2 separate regions of the Homo sapiens genome follow, and region 2 is linked to region 1. Evidence: promoter capture Hi-C in human tissues and cell types (Jung and others, 2019). All regions are on one chromosome and are shown on one strand. Each heading gives the region's core, a stretch centred on a gene start or on the middle of the fragment in contact. The rest is flanking DNA. Distances are from core to core; before and after follow the strand shown. Region 1 holds the start of SOCS6 (suppressor of cytokine signaling 6). Region 2 overlaps RTTN (rotatin).

Region 1 (4,019 bases), core at 954-3,453:
ATACTGACCTTATAGGATTGATATGAAAATTGAAGGATATGACATATTCAAAAGAGCTGAATGCAAGGCCGGACTCATGAAGTTTTATTACCTAGATTAGGCCCCTAGGGGTTTTTGTGCATTATTTCATGTAATCTTACAACTATTTGACATAATTAATATCGAGCCCCCTCACTCACCCTTTACAAAAGTAGAAACTGAGGTTCCAACTGAGAAACTTGTTTGAGGTCACACAGCTGTATGACCTGTCAAAACTGTGCTTCTGCACCAGCTCTGCCAGACTCAGAACCCCAGGGTCTTAACCATACATTTAAGTGTCTCCTAAAAGAGTCAACACTTCCCCATCCTGCACAGCCCCATTGCTGCGTGAAAGGCTCACTAACCCCCTGCTGCACAGCTCCTACTGGTTGTCATTTTAGAAAATATAGGGAGACACTGGAACTCCGAGGCAGTAGGATTGAAACGTTTGCTTCTTTTCTTTTTTTTTTTTTTGAGACGGCATCTAGCTCTGTCACCCAGGCTGGAGTGCAGTGGTGCGATCTCGGCTTACTGCAACCTCCGCCTCCCGGGTTCAAACGATTCTCCTGCCTCAGCCTCCTGAGTAGCTGGGATTACAGGCAGCTGCCACCACGCCCAGCTACTTTTTGTATTTTTAGTAGAGATGGGGTTTCACTGTGTTGGCCAGGCAGGTCTCGATCTCCTGATCTTGTGATCCGCCCGCCTCGGCCTCCCAAAGTGCTGGGATTACAGGCATGAGCCACCGTTAATTACTGTTTGTTGTGTTTCCCACTAACTTCTCTGACAATTCTATTTCAACCTACATTCTCCAATCACTGTAATTAGATATTTGAGAATTGTGTTGCATTTCAATCACGGTAACAATAATGGTAGTATTTTATTAATAAATTCAAGTAAAAACTGAAGATGACAATGATAGTGTATGATACATGACATCAACTTTGCATCACCTAAAGATCCAACTTTTCTGTTATGAATCTAGATTTCTTGGGGAAATCCAGATTGTATATTGGACATAGGAATTAAGATTACTGGACTTGAACTTTTTTGTAACTAACAACTTTATTGAGATATAATTCGGGTACCAACTCATACCTGAACAGCTTTTTAGACTTTTTTTCTAGCCCTTTTTTCTCTGTCCTTTCGGTTTTCTTTTAAAAAGGTCCATACTATTCAAGAAACACAACTTTTAAAGTCCACAATAATTCTCATTAGATTTTAATATTTATCTCCCCCCAAGCTTTACTGAAATACTAATGATATTCATTTTTTTAACCACTTTTCATCGTAAGAGAAATACAAATTTTCCTATTGATTCTTATGCACAAAAATCAAGTTTTTGTGGTACTGCTATACATTAGTAGTATGTTCAGCCAGTTTCCAAAGAAATTAGTCAAGATCCCAACATGCAACTTGTATACCACACTACCTTGGAATTCGGCGGCACAAACAACTATTCCTTGTACAAAACCTCCCTGAAAACGACTAAATGGAAAAGTGGATGGCTTGAAACAAGGAATGTTTGGTTTTTTAAAAAGCATTTTTCACAATTTAGTCGAGGTGTGGGGAGGGTTTCCCCACTTGTGGCTCTGCACAGCGTGCGCGCGCGTCTGTCCTGGGGTCCCCTCCCTGCGGGGACGAGGCCGGGGTCCCCGCGCGAGCCCAGCGGACCTGGGCAGTGCGGGGGTCCGACCGCCCGCCACAGGGGGACAGGGACCGCAGCCGCCAAATCCGCGGGGCCGGGGAACGAGGAGACTTTCCTTTCCGCGTTAGCCGGGGCCACCCCCGCCAGAGGGAAAGCACCAAAGGAAAAACCAGGACAGGGACTCTGGGGGCCGGAGGAGCGGCCTCCTGCAGGCACCAGCGGAGGGGCGCGGGGGTGGGGGAAGGGATCAGGGCTCCGCGCTCCGTCCGCCCCACGACCCCGGCCCGGCGCCCCTCCCCTCGGAACCCCCACTTAGTGCCCGGCCCCCGCCCCGCCCCGCGCGGCCCCCGGCCTCAGCCCCGCGCGCCCCGACGCCCCGCCTGCGCCGCGGGCCCGAGTAGTGGACGGGGGGCGGCCCGCTCGGCTCCTCCGCACCCGCTCCCCGCTCGGGCCGAGGCGCCGCGGCCGCGCGCCCCTCCTGGAGGAGGAGGAGGAAGGAGGCGGGAGGAGGAGTTGCCGAGAGGAGAAGGCGAGCGCGGCAGTCGCGCCGGCGCTGGGCGAGGAAGCGGAGCCGGGCCGCCTCCGGGTAAGCGTCCGGGGAGCTCGGGCGGGAGGCAGGGGCAGGGCTTCGCCGTCCGCCTCCGGGTCGCCCGCGGTCCGGGACACGGCTGGTTTTCGCCTCGGAGTGCAGGGGGCGGATCCGGCGCGGGCCGGGCCAGGGAGGCCGCCGGGCGCGGGGCTGCAGCGACGGGTCTGGGTCAGCGCGAGGCCCTGCGCCGTCTCGGCGGGTGCGCGGGCGGGGGCCAGGGCCGGGGAACGGGGGCCGGGGCCAGTCCCGGGAGCGGGGACGCGGAAACCGGGAAGCCGGGGCCGGGGCGCGGCGGCCCCTGAAGGGCCGAGGCCTGCGCGGCCGCGGACGGCTCTTCTCGACCCCTCGGCCTCTTCGGCCGCGGCGCGCCGGCCTGGGCCGCCGCCTTTGTTGCCCGCAGCTCGCCGGGGAGAGGCCGGGGCTCCGCGAGGCCTGGGCAGCGGCGCGGGGCCTGCGCGGCTCTGCGCCCCGGCCGGGTCCCTCCTCGGACCTCCGCGGGCTCGGGCTCGGGCTCGGGGTCGGGGCGCGGCGAGGCCGCAGGCGCGAGGGCGGGCCTGGGGCGCGGCGCTGGGACTCGGGGACGCCCCCGCCCCACCGCGAGGTCGCGCCGGCGCTGGTGGAGGTGCAGGCCGGGGCTGCTCTGCGGCTGAAGGTGCCGCCGGCCGGCTGCGCACTCACCCGGGTGTAGGGACCGGACGATTGTGGAATTTAAACCGCTCCTGGGACCGACACGGGCCTGAATTTTCAGTTTGCTTCGGGAGTTGGCAACTTCAGGTACACCCTTGTGGCTCACGGAGCAGAATTATGGACGTTTCTCAGGGGCAGATCCTGGCACAAAACTTGGGATATGTGCAGTAGTGTGTGTGCCAACTTAACGTTCAGTTGGAATGTGAAATTGGGGTTCCCATCCCCACTGTTTGGAATGAAGGGCCAGGTGGGAATATGTGGCGGGACTCAGTCTTCCGGTAGCAAAATAAATAATGTTGAATTCATTTCAACAAATGTTTCTGCAACGTCTGCCCGGATAAGGCAGCATGCACTGTGCATGAGGACAGAGAACACAGTAATGACAGAAATAACGTGAATTACACACTGAACGTCTCCCAGAGACATTTTAAATTTACTGTGTTCCTTGGGATAAAGATACATTTGGAATCAAACAAAAGTAAACGTTCTACTTCAAGATAAAATATCTGACATCTTCTCAACCACTGAAGGTAGCAATTTATCTTGACTTGTTTTTAACCAACTACCACAACATTAAATCCATTTAGCTTACTTGAATGAACGAATCTTAATTGTAATATTTAATGCTGTGGACAGCCTTACTTAAAAACACGAATGGCATTGCTCACCAGGTTTCACAAAAACCGGAAAAAAAGTCTGTAATACTTTTCCGTGGGCTTTCTAATTTCTCCTCCTAGTGGGTTTTGTGCACGCGTGGATATGGTAAGGTCTAGGATCCATTCAGCTCTAAATTAAATATGTGGCCTTAACCCTTTGGTTCAAACACCCTCCCTAAGCCTGCCTTGGTGCCTTGGAGGAACCTGGTTCGTGGACAGTGGATTTGATAAGGATTCCTAGAAGAACTTCTATCTGGAGTTTGGCCAGGGCTTTCCGCTTGTGCCTGGGTAAGGGTCAGCCAGGTATTCACCCGAATCTATACTTTTTTAGAACTCCATTCAGCATCTCTTTTGAAACACTGTTTCTCTCTTACCTTTATCGTTATCTTCTAAATTACCCTCTAAATTGGTAGTCTTGCCCCTT
Region 2 (4,605 bases), core at 646-3,145, 130 kb before region 1:
CCGCCTTCAACTTTCAAAGGCACTAGCTTCTTTTAATTAGCTACTTGCTACCCACTATCTTCAATCTTTCCTCCTCTGATTCTTTTTATTATTTCAACATACACAAATGAAAATGTAACTTCATTACAAACCCCTTCCAAGGTGCATCACCACTAACTGTCAAATCCCTAAAGGCAAGGCAGAAACAAATATACAACCACCATCTAGAGAATACAAGATCACAAGAAAAAGCTACCCTGCCAAAGAAGACCTGAAAATCAAAATAACAGTATCTGCTAAAATAAACAACATAAGGAAGATTCAATAGCCATAACAAGTGGGAGGATTCTAATACCATAATCTAAACAAGATTATAAAATAAATATGTTTAAAATTCACAACAACACAAAAGAAGAAACTAGAGGACTTGTTCCTGGCCTTGAGCAGCTCTTAGGGAAGTGGCAAGTGCAACAGGCATGGAGCAGCCCACTCTTGCAACGATCCTCTAGGATCCTAACTATGGGAGACCCCATGACCTGCACAGACCTTTGAGTTGCAAGGGAGAACTGCCCAATGAGTTGCCAGAGACAGAATGCCAGTCTGCACAGAGCCCAGAGGGTCTGGCGCAGTAATGGCTGCAATGGGGCATGGCCATAGGTGCCTGTTGCGGGAAGTCAGGGACCCCGAACGGAGGGACCGGCTGAAGCCATGGGAGAAGAATGTGGATTGTGAAGATTTCATGGACATTTATTAGTTCTCCAAATTAATACTTTTATAATTTCTTATGCCTGTCTTTACTGCAATCTCTAAACATAAATTGTGAAGATTTCATGGACACTTATCACTTCCCCAATAAATACGCTTGTGATTTCCTATGCCTGTCTTTACTTTAATCTCTTAATCCTGTCATCTCGTAAGCTGAGGAGGATGTATGTCGCCTCAGGACCCTGTGATGATTGCGTTAACTGCACAAATTGTAGAGCATGTGTGTTTGAACAATATGAAATCTGGGATCCTTGAAAAAAGAACAGAATAACAGCAACGTTCAGGGAACAAGAGAGATCACCTTAAACTCTGACTGCCGGTGAGCCGGGTGGAACAGAGCCATATTTCTCTTCTTTCAAAAGCTAATGGGAGAAATATCACTGAATTCTTTTTCTCAGCAAGGAACATCCCTGAGAAAGAGAATGTGCCCTTGAAGGTGGGTCTCTAAAATGGCCCCCTTGGGTGTGGCCGTCTTCTATGGTCGAGACTGTAGGGGTGAAATAAGCCCCAGTCTCCCATAGCGCTCCCAGGCTTACTAGGAAGAGGAAATTCCCATCTAATAAATTTTGGTCAGACCGGTTGCTCTCAAACCCTGTCTACTGATAAGATGTTATCAATGACAATGGTGCCCAAAACTTCATTAGCAATTTTAATTTTGCCTGCGGTCCTGCGGTCCTATGATCTCGCCCTGCCTCCATTTGCCTTGTGATATTCTATTACCTTGTGAAGCACGTGATTTTTGTGACCCACACCCTATTTGTACACTCCCTCCCCTTTTGAAAGTCCCTAATAAAAACTTGCTGGTTTTGCAGCTTGTGGGACATCACGGAACCCACCGACATGTGATGTCTCCCCCGGACGCCCAGCTTTAAAATTTCCCTCTTTTGTACTCTGTCCCTTTATTTCCCAACCCAGCCGACACTTAGGGAAAACAGAAAAGAAACTACGTGACTATTGGGGCAGGTTCCCTGATAGGTGCCCATCACCCAAATCTTGATATACTCCTCTAGGTGGCTTTAGCCTTAGTTCGCTGCCAGAAGTAGAAAGAGCAGGGCTATCTTTCCCACAAGACTGGGCCAACCTGATCTGAATGCCACCCTGTCTGCCAGCCTCTCAAAGGGTCCTGTCTGTCTCACTAGCTTGCAACACAGCCTCAGCTGCCCTGCCGAAATGCTCCCCAACAGCCACCCCATAGGTCTTTTGCCAACAGCCTCTGCCTTCCTGTCAGAGCGCTTTTGCAAGCACACACCCACCCACAGCCAATACCTACTGGTGTGCACTTGCCTGCAGCCTCCCCTGCCAGTGCGCACTTGCCCATGGTTACCCCCACCACAAGTGCACTCTCCCAAAGCACCGCCCCACGCCCCCCCAGAGCACTTTCTCGGGCAGTCACCATCGGAAAGTTGTTGCCAGCAGTCTGGGAACATCTCGGCTCCTCCAGTGCAGCAGATGCTTGACCTCAAGGGACCAGAAATCAAAGCCACTGGCCTGTTCAGTGCACCCCCAGGGTTAGAGCACACAGCCCAGGGGTGCTGAGCTGAGCTCTGGCCCTGAAAGCACACAGAAACCAAGCCAATTGACTAATCCCAACTTATACCACAGTAAAATCCTCAATGGCATCAAATAATATAAAAGCAAAAGGCCCCATCCAAAGTACAGCAACTTCAAAGATTAAAGGAACATCTGCCCACACAGGTAAGAAAAAAACAGTGTAAGAATTCTGGCAATTCTAAAAGCCAGAATGTCTTCTTATTTTCAAATAACCACACTAGCTCCCCAGCAATCGTTCTTAACCAAACTGAAATGGCTAAAATGACAGAATTCAGAAGCTGGAAGGCAAGGAAGCTCGACAAGATATAGAAGAAGGCTGAAGCCCCACCCATGGAAACCAGTAAAATGGTGGTTTGATCCATGATTGGATCTGACACAAACATTTTAAGTAAGAACAAAACTGAACTTCTGGAAACAAAAATTTCATGATAGGAATTTCATAATGCAATTGGAAGCATTAATAACATAACTGAGGAAAAAAATCTCAGAGCTCAAAGACTACTCCTTTGAATCATCACAGGCAAACAGAAATAAAGAAAAAAGAATTAAAAAAAAAAACTTCAAGAAATATGGGATTATGTAAACAAAACGAACCTAACACCCATCAGCATTCCAGAAAGAGAAGGAGAGAGAGCAAGCAACTTGGAAGGCATATTTGTGGATATTTTCCACGAAAATTTCTCCAACCTCACTAGGCAGGTCAATAAGCAAATTCAGGAAACTCAGAGAACCCCAGTGAGATACTATTCAAGATGACCACCCCCAAGACACATAGTCATCAGATTCTCCAAGGTCAACAGGAAAGAAAAAATCTTAAAAGGAAGCTAGAAAGAAAGAGCAGGTCACATATAAAAAGAACTCCATCAGGCTAACAGCAGACCTTTCAGCAGAAACCTTACAAGCCAGAAAAGATTGGGGACCTATAATCAGCATGCTTAAAGAAATTCAAACCAAGTATTTCATATCCAGCCAAGCTAAGCTTCATAAGCAAAGGAAAAACAAAATTATTTTCAGAGAAGCAAACGCTCAGGGAATTCATTACCATGAGACCTGACTTACAAGGGGTCCTCAATGGAGTGCTAAAAAAGGAAGCAAAAGACCATTACCTGCCTCCACAAAAACACACTAAAATACATCTCCCACTGACACTATGATGCAACTATACAATCAAGTCTACGTAACAACCAGCTAGCAACATGGCGACAGAATCAAATCCTCACATATCAATACTGACCTTGAACATAAACGGGCTAAACACCCCACTTAAAAAGCACAGAGTGGCAAGCTGGATAAAGAACCAAGACCCAACTATATGCTGTCAAGAGACCCAACTCACATGCAGTGACACCCACATGCTCAAAGTAATAGAATGGAGATAAAGATCTATCCAGCAAACAGAAAACAAAAAAAGAGCAGGAGTTGCTCTTCTTATTTCAGACAAAACAGACTTTAAACCAACAATGATCAAAAGGATAAAGAAAGGCATTACATAATGATAAAGGGTTCAATTCAACAAGAAGATTTAACTATCCTAAATATAATGCACCCAGCATTGGAGCACCCAGTCATAAAACAAGTTCTTAGAGACCTACAGAGTTTTAGACAACCACAAAATAATAGTGGGAGACTTCAACACCCCACTGACAGTGTTAGACAAATCACTGAGGCAGAAAACTAACAAAAATAGTTGGGACCTAAACTCGACACCTGACCAAATGGACCTAGGAGACTCTACAGAGTACTCCACTCAACAAAAGCAAAACACATTCTTCTCATCTGCACACAGCACACACTCTAAGATCAACCACACACTCAGCTGTAAAGCAATTCTCAACAAATTCAAGAAAACCGAAATCATACCAACCACACTCTCAGGCCACAGTGCAATAAAAATAGAAATTATTACCAAGAAGATCTCTCAAAAATGATACAATTACAGGGAACTTAAACAACCTGCACCTGAATGACTTTTGAGTAAAGAATGAAATTAAGGCAGAAATCATAAAATTCTTTGAAACTAACAAAAACAGAAACACAATATATCAGAATCTTTAGAACACAGCTAAGGCAGTGTTAAGAGGAAACTATACAGCACTAAATGCCTATATGAAGAAGTTAGAAAGATTGCAAACTAACAACCTGACACCACACTTAGAGGAACTAGAAAAGCAGGAGCAAACCAACCTGAAAGCTAGCAGAAGAACCAAAATCAGGGCTGAACTGAATGAAACTGAGACACAAAAATTCACACAAAAGATCGACAAAACCAAATTTTGGTTCTCCAAAAGAATATACAAGATTGATATATCA

Evidence for each region. The method cuts DNA at HindIII sites, captures the fragments that hold promoters and counts their contacts. A contact is called where the count stands out against the background at its distance.
Region 2: a contact is called between a fragment that was not itself captured here and the fragment with the promoter of SOCS6 in region 1, in 1 of the 25 tissues and cell types used here (IMR-90 fibroblasts).

The regions. Positions count from the first base shown.
Region 1 is chr18:70,286,842-70,290,860 of GRCh38, forward strand. SOCS6 (suppressor of cytokine signaling 6) reads left to right here and starts at 2,204. Exons shown (of 2, transcript NM_004232.4): 1 at 2,204-2,249. RefSeq lists a silencer at 2,040-2,939. The HindIII fragment of the contact is 14,867 bases long and covers 1-4,019 here.
Region 2 is chr18:70,155,075-70,159,679 of GRCh38, forward strand. The region is part of intron 14 of RTTN (rotatin); the gene reads right to left. Among named protein-coding and RNA genes, the nearest start is that of RTTN, 48 kb to the right of the region's middle. The HindIII fragment of the contact is 9,830 bases long and covers 1-4,605 here.